2 separate regions of the Homo sapiens genome follow, and region 2 is linked to region 1. Evidence: promoter capture Hi-C in human tissues and cell types (Jung and others, 2019). All regions are on one chromosome and are shown on one strand. Each heading gives the region's core, a stretch centred on a gene start or on the middle of the fragment in contact. The rest is flanking DNA. Distances are from core to core; before and after follow the strand shown.

What was found. Contacts are between HindIII fragments. The study calls those that stand out against the background at their distance.
Region 2: a fragment that was not itself captured here is called in contact with the fragment with the promoter of SERTAD4 in region 1 in 1 of the 25 tissues and cell types used here (mesendoderm cells).

What each region holds. Positions count from the first base shown.
Region 1 is chr1:210,229,346-210,237,198 of GRCh38, reverse strand. It overlaps SERTAD4 (SERTA domain containing 4), which reads right to left and starts at 4,403. Exons shown (of 4, transcript NM_019605.5): 1 at 4,188-4,403. It overlaps SERTAD4-AS1 (SERTAD4 antisense RNA 1), which reads left to right and starts at 3,314. Exons shown (of 2, transcript NR_024337.2): 1 at 3,314-3,564; 2 at 5,428-5,743. RefSeq lists an enhancer at 3,992-4,525. The HindIII fragment of the contact is 6,882 bases long and covers 425-7,306 here.
Region 2 is chr1:209,891,433-209,899,285 of GRCh38, reverse strand. No RefSeq gene overlaps it. Among named protein-coding and RNA genes, the nearest start is that of SYT14, 43 kb to the left of the region's middle. RefSeq lists enhancers at 267-794, 2,692-3,891. The HindIII fragment of the contact is 5,591 bases long and covers 1,596-7,186 here.

The DNA.
Region 1 (7,853 bases), core at 3,154-5,653:
AGCACAACATCAACGGAGCAGGCAGAATATTAAACAGGAGCCAGGCTCTGGGGCCAGAGGCAGCCAACAACTCTTTACACTGCAAAGCCCAGACACAGAGCAGGAACTTTCCAAGAGGCAACACATCACTGCCCTTCTCTCCAGTTCACGCCCTTCTCCCTTGGGCCTGCAGGGAGATGGGAGCTTCTCTGCTCTGTGAGGCTTCCTGGGCCCCTCGATAGCTCAGGCAGTGAGGCCGCTTTCATGGGGGCTCTGTGTCTTCACTTGGCCCTTTGCAGGTCTCGAGGTAGGGTCAAGAGTAAGTTCAAGGGAGAGGAGAGTCTGATATGAAGGTAAAAAGACCTAGCAGCCATAGACCAGTGGTGACAGTAGCGCAACCTCAGTGCCTCCTTAACTGCCAATCCCTTTAGGAGACTCAAGCCCCCACTATCTCATTCTGTGGTTTCAAGAACTGTCACACAAGTGACGTCAGGCTTTCTGAAGATTGATTGTCTTTCAAACATAAACTAAGGGCCCAGTTCTTGCTTTCTTTTCCAAATTATACAGCTTGTAATGTTTCTGGGAAAGAGTGAATCTACCATTGTCTCGTGGGAGACTATTATTACCTACATGCTATAACAAGGGTCCACTTCCAAGGAAAAAGAGGAAAAACACCAGGGTAAGGCGAAATAGCATCATTAAAGTGACAATGTCCTTCTGGCTAAAAGAGCAGCTCTTGGCAGCAATGACTCTACCTTTCACCCAGTCTTCTCTCTGAGGTCTCAAATTCTGTCCCAACCACACTGAATAATGAAGCAAGATCTTTTGACAGACAGGGAAGGTGTACAGGTCAGTGGAGAGAATTAGGACTCAGCTGGTTTGGGCTGCTACAACACCTCCCCGTTCTCTTTTAAGATGCCCTCCAAAGAGACATCAGTACGGACTTATTAGTAAACCTTAAAACAAGTGGGCAAAAGAAAGGTTCGATTAAATCTTTACAAAGAAACGATGGGACATGTCATTTATTTTTCTCTTTGAGTCATCAACAAAGAAATTTAGCCTACATTGATTTAACAAATTAAGTCCTTCTGTCTATCATTTCTCAAACTCCTCATCCAAGTAGGGTATCAAACTTCATGATGATTTATTCCCTGGAAGACTCTCATGAAATTGTCCAGTTTCTTCACCTATTCTAAGAGACAATCATATCAGGAAATACTATTGCCAAGAGCACATGAATTACAGCTTTTCAACAGTCAGCAGCCCTTTCTTATTGAGAGAATCAACATTTTCTAGTTTGAAGTTTACACTCACTTTTGTGTTAGATCATGGGAATAAGATGCAAGCCTTTTGCCTATGCAGACTTTTATTTCATGTAAACAAAAGCAGGTTGTCAAACTCATGCCCCTTAAGAAAGAAAAACATTTGCAGGCTCCTGGCAGCAATTACTTTTGTTTAACAGGACATTATATGGGCCCTGTGCTGTTTTATGTTTGTCAGAGTTTGTTTATATTTTAATAACTTTTTGGTAGTACCTTTTTTGGTTGTGAGGAATTTCAGCGTTTCTATTTGTTAGCATTATTTCCAGCATATCCTATTATGCACGTGAACTTGAAACATGGCATAACAGTATTTATCTTGGCTATTATTTTGTTCACAATATCTAATTTTACTAAGTTTTTCTTTTTTAAATTGAGAACTGTTACACACAAAACCCTAAACTAGAGAGGCTGAGTTCTGCAAGTGATTTATGTAAATCTGAATAAAACATGAATGAGTTGGGATTATTTGGGAGCGGGGAGGAGATTTTGCAATTGAGTCTTCCTAGTCTATTTAAAACTTACACTGGATGTTAACAAATTAAGAAGGCAAGTTGAATGTTCACGAAAAATTGGACAGGGCAGCGTTAAGCACAAATGCTTAACGTGAATCTTTCTTCGTATTATATGTAGAGATCTAAACTGTCATAATTCTCTGTCTGATAAGATTTATAATTCTGCTACTGACGTCAGCAATTCAAGTCCACAAATTCGTGTTCTATTAATATTAAATAAAGAAAAGGATATACATTATGGCAAAATTTATTTTCTAAGATCAGAGGTGATGGATTCAACAGGAGGGTGTTAGAGTGTGTTTTGTCTATGCATGGGTTTAAAAGATAAGAAAAAAAAAAGCCCTAACCCTTCATCCTCAGGCTCCTGAATGTCTGTTTTGACACCCAGGTGGATGTAGTGGAATGACACTTCCAGCATCCCCAGAAGACTGAGGGCTAGAATGCCAAGCTTTTCCAGCAAATGTTCGTAGTAAAGTTACCAGGCATTTCTATACAATTTGTTTTTTTCCAGATGAGTTGGGCTTGTTCTTTCCTAGAAGCAATTATGATGCTAATAGGAGTGGCTGGCACACAAAACAGGGTAGCTATGAATTCAGCGGCACCTTGAATCTAACAAGGGGCTCCAGGTCATTCTTTGCTCACTTCTTCTTCCATCTGTCATTGAAAATTGGAGAGCATTTGATTAAGATCATTATAGCAGTTAGCAGTCTGATTCCAGCACTGGAAAGCAGGGAAGTAAAGGGCTATTTCCACCCCCGATCGATGCTGCCAGTTTTAAATGGCATCAAGCCCCTGACCTCCACATTGTCCCAAAATGATCTCAATAGCTTGTCCGGCTCCTGGTGGTGGTAGTGGAAGGGACTGGATGGGCGGAACAAAATTCTTCAACCCTTCTAAACAAACAGATGTCGCTTTTCTGCCGTTCCTGCAGTACACCTGTCTGCCCTGGGAAGTACATTTCTCAGCTGCAGCCCCGCGAGGCCAAGAGCTTGAAGCTGGGTCCTGTGGTTGGGGCTGCAGGTGCTGGGCCTAAAGAGCACGAAGGGGTGCTCCGATGCCCGAGCCCTGGTGCCCAAGGTGTGTGTGTGTGTGGCGGTTGCGGGGGTGGGGTCCGAGGTTTGGAGGGCCGACCTCTTGAAGGCGGGCGGCAGCCACCAACCACATCCTGGCTCCCGCACAGACACACCCCCGGGGTGTCGGTGCCGCAGCCCTCAGCCCCTCCCCGGGTAGCCAGCAGCGCCCGGTCGGCCGCTGGCCGCAGGAGAAAGTAAACAACACCCCAAGTGTCCGGGAACAAAGGCAAGTTGTCTTTCTACGGTGCCGCAGCCGTGTGCCTCTTCTGAAGAATAAGAGCTATTATTATTCTTTATGTCTTATCCTTTTTTTTTTTTAAAAAAAAAACCAAGTTTCCTTCTAAGGGAAATAAACACCAAAGGTAGGATTCCAAGGAAATGACTCACAGCGGCTGGCAGGGCTCTGGCGGGGCTGGCCCGGGCCCCCGCGCTCCAGCCCGCAGCAGATGTCGGCCCGGCCTTCCCTCCCTCCCTTGCCGGCCAAACCCGCTGGAAGCCCGCGGTTGCGGGAGCGCCCTGCGCCCGTGGGACCTGGCGGCGAGGACGCCTATTCCCTGCTTCTGCGACCACAGCTGGGCACTCGGAAAGTTGCTAGGGCCGAAGAGGCGGGAGGGGAGGAAGGGAAGCGAGAGGCGGAGGCGTGGACCAGGCGGGCAGCAGCCTCAGCCCGCCGAGGAGGTGAGCTGAGGACAGAGGAGCCGCCGCCGCCCGCAGCGCAGCTCTGCTGCCTGGGAGGAGGGTGCGGGGGCGGAGGTGGCGGGGGACAGAAGGTGTCAGCTACTGCATCAATTCCTTTTTCTTGCAAACGCGCGCTCCTGACATCCACAATCCCTCTCTCCCCACCTGCCAAGCGCCGCGGCATCCGGACCTGGGGGCACCCCTCCTACTTAACCCCTTCCCCTACGATGAGGGACTAAGCGGCCACGGAGGACCATGAGGTCTCACCAGAGCTTCTGACCCCACCCGCCCCTGGAGTTGTCTCGGTGCGCGCGGGTGGCAGCCCGAGCAGCCCTAGAGGAGGCGGCGGTTCCCGCCCTGGTGAAGGCGCCGCGGCGCACGCTAGCCCAGGGAAAAGCCCGCGCCGCCTCCGCGCCCAGCTGTGCCTTGGCCCCCACGCCGCCCCGACTCCGCTCCGGCCGCTGCGAGTCCACTCGGTGACCTCGGCACAGCCCTGGTGCCAAGAGGGCGCGCGGGAGGCCGCGTGGGTGCCCGTCTGCGAGGGCAGGAGCCCCGGGGGGCCCTCGCCCTCCACCCTGCCCGGCCCTCCCGCCCCCGCGGCCCGCGCCCAGCCCGGCTCTTACCGCGGGGTCAGCGGGGAGGCGGCGGCCGCAGCGCTTGAGCTGCTGCTGGTCCGCTCTGGGCTCGGCGCCAGCCCGGCCGCCGGTGCACACTCGCGGGTCCCGGCCCGGCCGCCCGCTCGGCGGTGACTGCGGGTGCGCGGCGGGCAAGGGTCCCGGCAGGTCCCGCCGCCGCGACTGGGGCGCTGCGCCGCCGTCGCTGCAGACGGTTATGGTAATGAGCGGCTCTGTCTAGCGAGGAGCGTGTGAAACCCGTCAATCCTGTTTGCCATTTCCCCGTGGATTTCCGAGGAGAGGTTCTGCAGGATGCCCCCAGGGTGAGAGAGGGAACATGACAAGCGCGCCCGCTCTCCCTCCCTCCCTCTGCTCAGGCCGCCGCCGCCGCTCCTCAGGCTGCACACGGGGCGCCTTTCCCGCACCCCCACCCCAGCCCGCCCCCTGCCTCCTTCCCTGCTTCCCGCCCTCCCTCCTCCTTTTCCTCCCCTCCCCTCCCGGTGCCCGGGGACACGCGGGCCCAGCTCCAGCCCGCAGCCCAGACCCCACGCGCTCTCGGGCTCCCGCCCTAGCCCTGGGGGCTTGGCTCCAGCCGAATAATGTATTCACTCTGGAACCTTCCGAGATATCTTGTCTTTTTAAATTTGGTTTAGTTTTGTTGTTGTTGTGTGTGCGTGTGATTAAAAAAAAAATCTGTGCCTTTCCCACCCTTTGCAAAAGACTTTCTTCTCCTTTGCCACAGCAAACGGAGATGAGAAACAGATGTCTTTGCAGGACCAAACAGTTATTCTCCCTCGCCGCCCGCCCCCGCCCGTTTCCCTCCTGAGCTGCGTACGTATTAAAAAAAAAAAAAAAAGCAACCTTGGTCCTGCTGCAACTTGAATTGGCAACCCTTTCTGGGTGGGGAGCCTCCAGGGAAAACCTCCAGGAAATAAAAAGTAATACAAGAGATTGTCCTTGCTCAAGAGAATGTAATTTAAGCCTTGGAATCAGAATATTTTGCAAATAGTAATTTTCTCCTATAGTGGCCTCAGAGTTTATTTTTTAAAATCATTAATTCATAACTTCTGTCTAGGGACCCCTCCATAGTCGAGATGGGTCATTTCAGGTGTAATGAAGGCAGAGGCTTGGAAGGCATAGACCTAATAAAATCGGGAGAAGGCACCTGCACAAAAGTGTTACAAAGACTATAATGTTTGTTTACTGCCACTATACCAGATGTGCTAAATATAACACTTCTTTAAAACAGTGATCCTCCGACTGTGAAAAACCAGACCTCTGGCTGCCTGGCTCCCTAGGAATCAAGAAGACGCACAGACTGAAAATCAAGGGAGGAAGGAACAAGATCAAGGATGAGGATTAGCATCTGCAAATTGAACTCTATCTAATTTGCATGTTTATTTCTTAGAATTGTAATTAAATTTGTGTAATAAATGTTTTCCATTTCATTTGTACACTTAAAACTTGGGTGACTGACATGCAGTTAAGTGAATTTCCTTTTTTTAAAAGCAAATGTAGATTATTCAATAAAGCAGCAAACCAATATTAAACATAATTAGAACTAATTTGTTTTGAAGGTGTTTTTGTTGAACTTTGTACATTAAAGACTCTCAGAGGTTTTAAGGGTATTAGGAAGCTGAGAGATGGCAATTATGCTTAAAACAGATGAACCCAACAGCCTACCAAGAGCATTATTTCATTTTTTCCAAAAGACATTCCAGGGTTGCATGCCTAAAATTGGGAATTGGGCATCCATCTTGGCTTTATTCTGAACCATATTAAATTGCATTGGCTCATGCATGATGTGGGCCATTATGATGATAATTTAAGAATTGTAAAGATGCCATTTTGTGCAGTCAATGGAAGTTGCATGTCCAGGTTAAGAGTAGAGTATAATTTTCATCTGGGTGGGAGAGGAGGGTTAGGAAAGGCACAAGGGCATTTAAAGCAGTGCAAGTACGTAGAAATCCAAATTTCCAAATAATCTAAAACTGGTTATTGTCAAACTCAAAAGAACTAAATGTGAGGGTTTGGAGGCATGGCTTATTATGGTTTTTATCTCCCTATATTAAAGTTTTATGGCATTTAAAGGACTATGGGTAAATCCCCATGTACACTTGGCTGTGTGAAAATACATAAAATCAAAAGGAGCAAATTAAGCATAAAATTGAGAAATAACATGAGACTAAGTTATCAGCATGGGTGCACTGGCATCTTTGGAGCTTTGGCTCGGAGAAATGAGCCTTCTGGGAAACTGGCATTGCCCTTGGGTGGAGAAGACTCTTGGCTTTAATGTTACAACAAAATGGTATCACAAGTATCAAATCATTGTACTTCACAGCATCCTTGCAGTTCTGAGTATGAACTAGACCCTGTCCTCATCAGATACATTAGGTTAGCATGTTTTACTGACAGCTTTCCCTGCCCTACCTTTAATCCTAAGCTTAATGTTTTTTGAGATTCAATACCCAACTGTTGACAACATGAACCTGTGTCTACAAGTACAAGAGGCAGACAAATGTCTATGGAATGAGAAACCTCATTACAAATTTAAGGTGACTATGTGGTAGCTATGGCATGAAAAAAGAACCAACTATAAATCAATAATGAAAAATTTGGAATGAGTAATTGTTATTTATAATGAGGTACAATATTTAATTGACAACTATGATGTCATCATTTTGGGGTGTGTGTGTGTGTGTATGTGTGTGTGTGTGTGAGAAGCTCCAAATAGAAGTTTGATTATAAAACTTATAATACTTTGAGCTGCAAATTTACTGAAGGCAGTGGTTGTTTTCCTTTGTTTAACAAAGAGACTTTCAGACTTAAAATTGCTGAAACCCATTTCACAAAACCTTTTTGTCATTTGTCTGATAGGGGGATTTCACAAGTAAAATTTGACTTATTCAGATTGTTGTGGACACAATACCCACTTGGATTAATTGAAAGTTAAAATTACTGGCTTAAAAAAATAGACCATTTTTGGCTGGGTACGGTGGCTCACGCCTATAATCCCAGCACTTTGGGAGGCCAAGGCGGGTGGATCACCTGAGGTCAGGAGTTTGAGACCAGCCTGACCAACACGGCGAAACCCCGCCTCTACTAAAAATACAAAAAATTAGCTGAGCATGGTGGCAGGCGCCTGTAATCCAGCTACTCAGGAGGCTGAGGCAGGAGAATAGCTTGAACCCAGGAGGCAGAGGTTGCAGTGAGCCAAGATCGCACCACTGCACTCCAGCCTGGGTGCAACAGAGCAAGAATCCATCAAAAAAACAAACAGCAACAATAAAAAAAAAAAAAACATTTTTTTAATGGCAAAAAGAAGCATCTGCACCCAATTCCTCTTCTATTCTCAAACCTTTTCCACTGAGGCTTTCTTATCCGATCACTCCATTGAAACTGTTCTGGTCAATGTCACCACTGACCTCCACGTTGTTAAATCCAAAGGCCATTTTGCATCTAACTTGACCCTTAAGCAGCATTTGACCCAGTTGCCCACTCCCTCCTCCTTTAAACGCCTTTATCTTGGCTCCTGGGACAACACATCCACCTGATTTGCCTCCTGCCTCACTGGTTGTTCCTCTCAGTCTCCTTTGCTGGTTCCCCCTCTTATCTAGGACCTCTGGATGTTGGGTTGCCTCAAGCTCAGTCCTTGCACCTTGTCTCTTCTCTACA
Region 2 (7,853 bases), core at 3,142-5,641, 340 kb after region 1:
GCATTTGAGGAGCCCTTCAGCCCCCCCACTGCACTGTGGGAGCCCCTTTCTGGGCTGGCCAAGGCTGGAGCCCACTCCCTCAGCTTGCAGGGAGGTGTGGAGGGAGAGGCACGAGCGGGAACCCGGGCTGCGTGCGGCGCTTGCAGGCCAGCTGGAGTTCCGGGTGGGCGTGGGCTTGGTGGGCTCCACACTCGGAGCAGCCAGCCAGCCTTGCTGGCCCCGGGCAATGCGGGACTTAGCATCCGGGCCAGTGGCTGCGGAGGGTGTACTGAGTCCCCCAGCAGTGCCGGCCCACCAGCGCTGTGCTCGATTTCTTACCGGGCCTTAGCTGCCTTCCCGTGGGGCAGGGCTTGGGACCTGCAGCCCACCATGCCTGAGCCTCCCACCCACTCCATGGGCTCCTGTGCGGCCCCAGCCTCCCCGACGAGCACCAACCCCTGCTCCACGGTGCCCAGTCCCATCGACCACCCAAGGGCTGAGGAATGCGAGCGCACGGCGCAGGACTGGCAGGCAGTCCACCTGCAGCCCCGGTGCGGGATCCACTAGGTGAAGCCAGCTGGGCTCCTGAGTCTGGTGGGGACGTGGAGAGTCTTTATATCTAGCTCAGGGATTGTAAATACACCAATCAGCACCCTGTGTTTAGCTCAAGGTTTGTGAGTGCACCAATCAATACTCTGTATCTAGCTGCTCTGGTGGGGCCCTGGAGAACGTGTGTGTCAAAACTCTGTATCTAACTAATCTGATGGGGAGGTGGAGAACCTTTGTATCTAGCTCAGGGATTGTAAAAGCACCAGTCAGCAGCCTGACAAAACAGGCCACTCAGCTCTACCAATCAGCAGGATGTGGGTGGGGCCAGATAAGAGAATAAAAGCAGGCTGACCGAGCCAGCATTGGCAACCCGCTGGGGTCCCCTTCCACACTGTGGAAGCTGTGTTCTTTTGCCCTTTGCAATAAATCTTGCTACTGCTCACTCTTTGGGTCCACGTTGCTTTTATGAGCTGTAACACTCATCGCGAAGATCTGCAGCTTCACTCCTGAACCCAGCGAGACCACGAACCCACCAGGAGGAACGAACAACTCCAGACACCCTGCCTTAAGAGCTGTAACACTCACCGCAAAGGTCTGCAGCTTCACTTCTGAGCCAGCAAGACCACTGAACCCACCAGAAGGAAGAAACTCCGAACACATCTGAACATCAGAAGGGACAGACTCCAGACGCGCCACCTTAAGAGCTGTAACACTCACCGCGAGGGTCCACGGCTTCATTCTTGAAGTCTGTGAGACCAAGAACCCATCAATTCCGGACACAGTTGTAAATATACTAAATCATAAATTGTTAACTCACTAACTTACTTTTGCTAAATGTATGACAGATCGTGGTGAATCTGGTATACATGTACCCTGTTGGTGGTACAGTAAATTAATACAGCTCTTTTGATAAACACTATATAGGCTAGTTATCAAAAGTGATTTAAATGCTTACTGCTTTTGACTCAGTAATTTAAAAACTGAAATTCATAGGAAGAAGTTGAGAATATGGTACCTCTATGACTTTAGATGATCAACATAGAGGCAGCTACTACTGATCTCATGAAGTGTCCTTTGGCAACAAAATTGGCTTGATCCAAAATGCTAAGTTTGATGTACTCTTGTGCTTATTTTTTGCCGAGTCCTGCAAATGAACCAATAGGCATTTTGAAATCGAGAGTTACGTAGCCACTCTAACAGAAGGCGCCCTTCCTGTAGCTTGGCTATGTAATGACTGCCTTGTAATTTACAAGTCATATGGGTTCTGTCCGCTAAGTTGTACGCTCTTCCAGAAACATTGTGAGCAACCCACTTTAAAAAAATCCCTGAATGACCCGGGCTCCACCCCTCACAACTCTTTAGCTTTAGGCTTGCTCTGTCTCTTTCCTCCTCTTGCCCTGCTATGCTTCCTTCGCTTCTCTCTTACAACCTTAGCAAAGTGTTTCTGCTCACAAGACCACCAGCTTCAGCACAGCATGGACGCCTCTAATTCAAAACTCCGTCCTGATACATTGTGAACACTATTTTAGTGGTTGTTTGCAAGCCTCTGTTGACACTTATGAAAAAGTAGGTCAAAGGAGTAGAAATGCATGCAGCAATCACTCAGTATGGCCCAAATAATGCCACTAAAAAAATCTGTACAGTCATGATGTTTAAAAATATTTCTCAAATTATACTGATGGTATGGGGGTGAAGTCTGGCAAATTTACTTCTCCTTCTATCCTTGCCTCAGATTCACATCCTCCACGTCTTGTCACCTTCTCCCCAAAGCCTTCCCTGTCCTCTTTAGATTGTTAGAGAAGCACTGTCTCTATGTTCCCTCAGTACACCTAATATTGAACATACCTTTATTATAGCATTTCTTCTTCTGAAGTAATGATGCTTACATGGTTGTGTCCTCTTCTACACTGTATCTCAAGGTGGCATACATTAGGTACTTAATGAGTGTTTGCTGAATGTTTGTTGAATGAATTTATCTCCTTGTGTAATGCTAACCCTCATCAGCTTCCAATTATCCACGCTAATGGAAGGGAAGAGAGGTTTAGGATGATGTGAAATAATTGACAGTTCTAAAATCTGAGATCCCTGATTCAAAAGGCTTGTGTACTCAATAATGCAGTCACACACACACAAACAGCCATGCAGCTAGGAAGGTTTTAGAGGAAGAAGTCAACTGATTCAAATCCTCTCCAGGGTGGATTCGCAAGTCATGGGAAACAGTAAAACTGATGTGTTGGGTTTGCTCTGCCAGAATGCCTTTGCACCAGATACCCTGCATACCCTGTGGTCAAATGTCTTTTCCTGTCATAGCTACAAGCCAACAGCTCCATTGCATTAAAATTGCAGGTAGTTAGTTATATCCTATATGCTTTGACGTCAGTTTAATGCTAGGGCACGTAGAAATAAGGGTGAAGAGGGTAAGCTGGTCTTTGTCCTTGGGGAGGGCCTTGAGTACCATGCTCAATAATGTGAGTTTGAGGAGCCAGTGAAGGTATCCGAGTAAGAGAGCAATATTCATATAAGTGGTTATTGAAGATCCTTGGGTGGCAATGTGAAATGTGGATCTGAGGCAGGAGGAAGATCAGTTGGGAAGGGGTTCAGAGAACAAGTAAAGAAGAAAATCCTGAAATGGAAGTGAGACAGAGCAGGGACCCCTTTTAGGATCCTGCCTTCCCACCCCCAACCCAAGCATGGGAATAAAGGAAAATCTTGAGTTTCTTCAAGGGAAATTCCAGGCACCTAGCTAGCCTTGAGAAATAAATGAGTAATCTAATAGCTTAAAACAATAGCCAAGAAAGTTAGAGTCACAGGATGTTTGGTTCTCTAGAGAAACTAAAGATAACATCTTAACATACCTCGTCCCTGAGTTGTTTTTCAGAAACCTGGACCCGCCCCTACCTTCCCCCGCACCCCACCAAATGGAAAATACTGTCTGCTGGCATGTAGACCTCAAACGGGAGAACTGAGGACTGAACTCTATCATTCTTTGTTCTAAATTTCTTCCTGAGGGCCCTGGAGAAAGTCATGCCCACATGCTAGATCTTAACATTCTTTTCTTCCAACCCCAAATGTTTAGACAAAGCTTTGCTTCCTTAGTGAATTGCAAACCAGAGAGTCTTTGAATCCACCTGTGACCTGTAAAGCCCCAATTCGAGATATACCACCTTTTTAGGCCAAACCAATATATAACCTCCATGTATTGATTTACCATTTTGCTTGTGATTTCTGATTTCCTGAAATTTATCTCAGCCTTTGAAAAAACCTTGCTTGAGGCTGGGCACGGTGGCTCATACCTGTAATCCCAGCACTTCGGGAGGCCAAGGTGGGAGGGTCGCTTAAGCCCAGGAGTTCAAGACCAGCCTGAACAACATGGTGAAACCGGTTTCCATTTCTACTAAAAATACAAAATTAGTCGGGCGATAGTGGTGCATGCCTGTAATCCCAGCTACTCTGGAGGCTGAGGCAGGAGAATCGCTTGAGCCTGGGAGGTGGAGGTTGCAGTGAGCTGAGATCACACTACTGCACACGCTGAACGTGGATGACAGAGTGAGACCCTGTCTCAAAACAAACAAACAAACAAACAACAACAAAACAACAACAACAAAAAGCCTTGCTTGTAAGCCATCAAGTAGGTCAGGTCTGAAGTGTAAACTGCCAGATTCTCCTTGTTTGGGGCCCTGCAAATAAACATCCTCCTTTCTTTTGCTGCAAAACCTCAGGGTGGATGTTTAGCTTTACTGCACAGCATAAGCAAATCCATGTTTGGTTCAGTAAGAGAAGCGGGGAGCATCCTCCTTTGAGGCAGAAAGGGAAAAGTGAAGGATTAGTGATAAAGCACAGTGAGTCCAGGGAAGCTGACAGGCTTCATATGATGCGCGGTTAAGAGGGGAACGTTAAGGGAGGAACACATAAGGTTTCATCTTTCGGAGAGCACTTTGTTTTGAAACTGGCATTGTGGGGAATTTTAATGGTGAGCTGAAGTCAGCACGATTTGTGATTTTTATCCAGCAAGAACTGTGACCTTAACAATTCCATCTAGAGGCATCTGCTTTGAAAAAAAAATGGAAGAAGGGAAAGGGCATTGCTGTGGGACCAGAGGTGATTGCTGGCGGCTTCTCCGCTTACCTCATTAAAATGCCTCTTTGCTTCTCTTGATCTCTTTTCCCCTTTAAACCACTTTGCAAGAGCTGAGATCTGTATTCAACACTCATTAATTCGATTCATAATTATAGAGTACCTAATATGTACATTATTCAAGGTGCTGGGGTTAAAGCAATGAGCAAATCACATTAGGGAACAAATTCTACTCTCAGGGAATTTATATTCTATTTGGGGAAACAAACAATAGAGAGGTAAATAATAGTAATTCTAGACATTGATTAGTACAATAGAGAAAGTAGCCTGGATGCGGGGCTCACACCTGTAGTCCCAGCACTTTGGGAGTCCGAGGCAGGTGGATTGCTTGAGCTCAGGAATTCAAGACCAGCCTGGCCAACATGGCAAAACCCCGTTTCTACTAAAAACACAAAAATTAGCCGGGCGTGGTGGCACATGCCTATAGTCCCAGCTACTCAGGAGACTGAGGCATGAAAATCACTTGAACCCAGGAAGCCGGGAAAGGGAGGCTGCAGTGAGCTGAGATTGTGCCACTGCACTCCAGCCTGGGCGACAGAGTGGGACCCTGTCTCAAAAAAAATTTCAAAAAAAAAAAAAAGTAAAGTAAATCAGGGCAATGGGACAGATGTGGATGAGGCACCATTCAAGCCTGTGGTCAGGGAAGACTTTTCTGAGAAGACAACAGCTGAGCTGAGATCAGAGACAAGAAGCTCCAGTGTGTGAAAACCCAAGGCAAGGTCCTTTTGGCTTTTGGGCAGAGGGAACAAGTGTAATGGTTCTGAAGTGGGAACAAACTTAGAGCATTTGAGGAGCAGCAAGAGAACCAGTGTGGTTGAGTTGCAGTAAGCAACGCGGGAGCGGGCAGATGAGTTTGGAGACGCAGGAAGCAGGAAAATGTGGTAGCCAGAGTGCTGGCTGAGGCAGTAGAAGATTGCATTCTCCTGCAAAGATTTCCCCTGTGACCCAAGGACACTCGCCCTGGGTCTCAGCTTCTTGTTACAAGATGAGAGGCCTGGGCAAGATGATAGGAACTCTAGCCTGCCCAAGAAAGAGAAGTACTTAATGCTGTTTATTTAAAAGATGAATCTTTAAGGCTTTTGCAGCCTATGTTCTATGCTTATCAGGGCTCTCTGCAACCTAGCTCCAGGTTCCATAACAGCATGTTTCTCTACCTTTGGGATTCTTTAGTTGGGCTGTTCTTTTCCCTGTTCCCAGAATACCACAGACCCATGGAAGGGTTGATATTGCAGTTTTGAGTCTGAAAGAAATCTGAAGGCAGAATTTCTTCTTCCTCAGGGAACCTCAGTCTTTTTTCTTTTTTTTTTTTTTAATTTATTTTTTGAGACAGTCTCGCTTTGTCACCCAGGCTGGAGTGCAGTGGTGCAATCTTGGCTCATTGCAACCTCTGCCTCCTGGGTTCAAGTGATTCTCCTGCCTCACCCTTCTGAGTAGCTGGGACTACAGACATGTGCCACCACACCCGGCTCATTTTTGTTTTTGTTTTTTTTTAGTATAGACAGGGTTTTGCCATGTTGGCCAGGCTGGTCTTGAACTCCTGACCTCAAGTGATCCACCCGCTTTGAGTCTTTTCTCTTAAAATCTTCAATTGATTGGATGAGACCCACCCACATTATGGAGGGCAATCTGCTTAACTCAAACTTTACTTATCTAAGTGTTATCACATCTAAAAAATACCTTCACAGCAACATATAGACTAGTGTTTGACCAAACAACTGGGTACCATAGCCTAGCTGGGTTGACACATAAAATCAACCAGCACAATGAATCTTCCTTCACTATACTCAGCACAAGTCCACTGTGTGCAGGGAGCACTTGATGAATAGTTAACTAAAGGGCTGTAATTAGTGCTGTACATCCATTCATTCAGCAAACACTATGTTTAATGAGCACCTACTTTGGGCCAGGCTCTGTTCCAAGAGCTGGGCAAATGGCAGTGAACAAGACTGATAATGATTAAGTCTATTTTTTATTCATGTGCTTTGGCATCTTATAGATCCAGTGTGAACAGTTTTTGTTGTTGTTTTTATTATTTTGTTTTGTTGGCTGATGTAGAAAAGTTATCATAAGCATAATCCCTTTGTAGGTCTACTCATTAAAGCTGTCAGAGTAGGATTCTTAAAAAAAAAAAAAAAAAAAAAGAGGTTAGATAATTTGCTTAATTGCATTAAAGTACAGTTGGCCTTCCATATCCGTGAGTTCTGTATCCATGGATTCAATCAACCACAGGTAGAAAATAATTTGGAAAAAGATATTGCATCTGTACCAAACATGTACAGACCATTTTTCTTTGTCATTATTCCCTAAAAACAACTACTTACATAGCATTTACATTGTATTAAGTATTATAAGTAACCTGGAGTTGATTTAAAGTATACAGGAGAATGTGCATAGATTATAAGCAAATACTAGACTATTTTTTACCAGGGACTTCAGCATCTGTGGATTTTGCTATTCGGGGAGGTCCTGAAACCAATCACCTATGAATACCAAGGGACAACTGTGTATGACAGATAGATAGAATTATAAAAATGTCCCCTCAAGATGCTTGTCCCTGGTTAGTCATGTATGACAGATAGATAGAATTATAAAAATGTCCCCTCAAGATGCTTGTCCCTGGTTAGTCAAACACTAATCGTCTTAATGCTGAGAAGGTATTTTACAGATATAATTAAAGTCCCAAATCAGTTACCCTTGAGTTACAGAGATTATCTGTGTGGGCCTGACCCAGTAGATGAACCTTTTAAGAGCAGAGAGTTTTCTTTGGCTAGCAACAGAAGAGGAGTCAGAGATTCAAAGCACAAAGGGGATTCTATGCACCATTTCTGGCTCGAAGAAGGAAGGGGTCATCTGCCAAGGAATGTGAGTGACCTTAAGGACCAAAGAGCAGCCCCCCACCAATAGCCAGCAAGGAAATGGGACTTCAGTCCTACAACCACAGGAATAGAATTCTGTCAACAACCTGAATGACCTTGAAAGCAGATTCTTCCCAGATCCTCCAGGGAAGAGCCAGTAGGCAAACACCTTGATTTTGGCCCTGTTTGATCCTGTGTAAAGAATCCAGCAGAGCCCACACTCTGACCTACAGAACTGTGAGCCAAGAATTGGATGTTGCTCTAAGTTTGTGATAATGTGTTATGCAGTCACGGAAAACTAACATAGAGTATACAGCTAAATAATGATATGGCCTG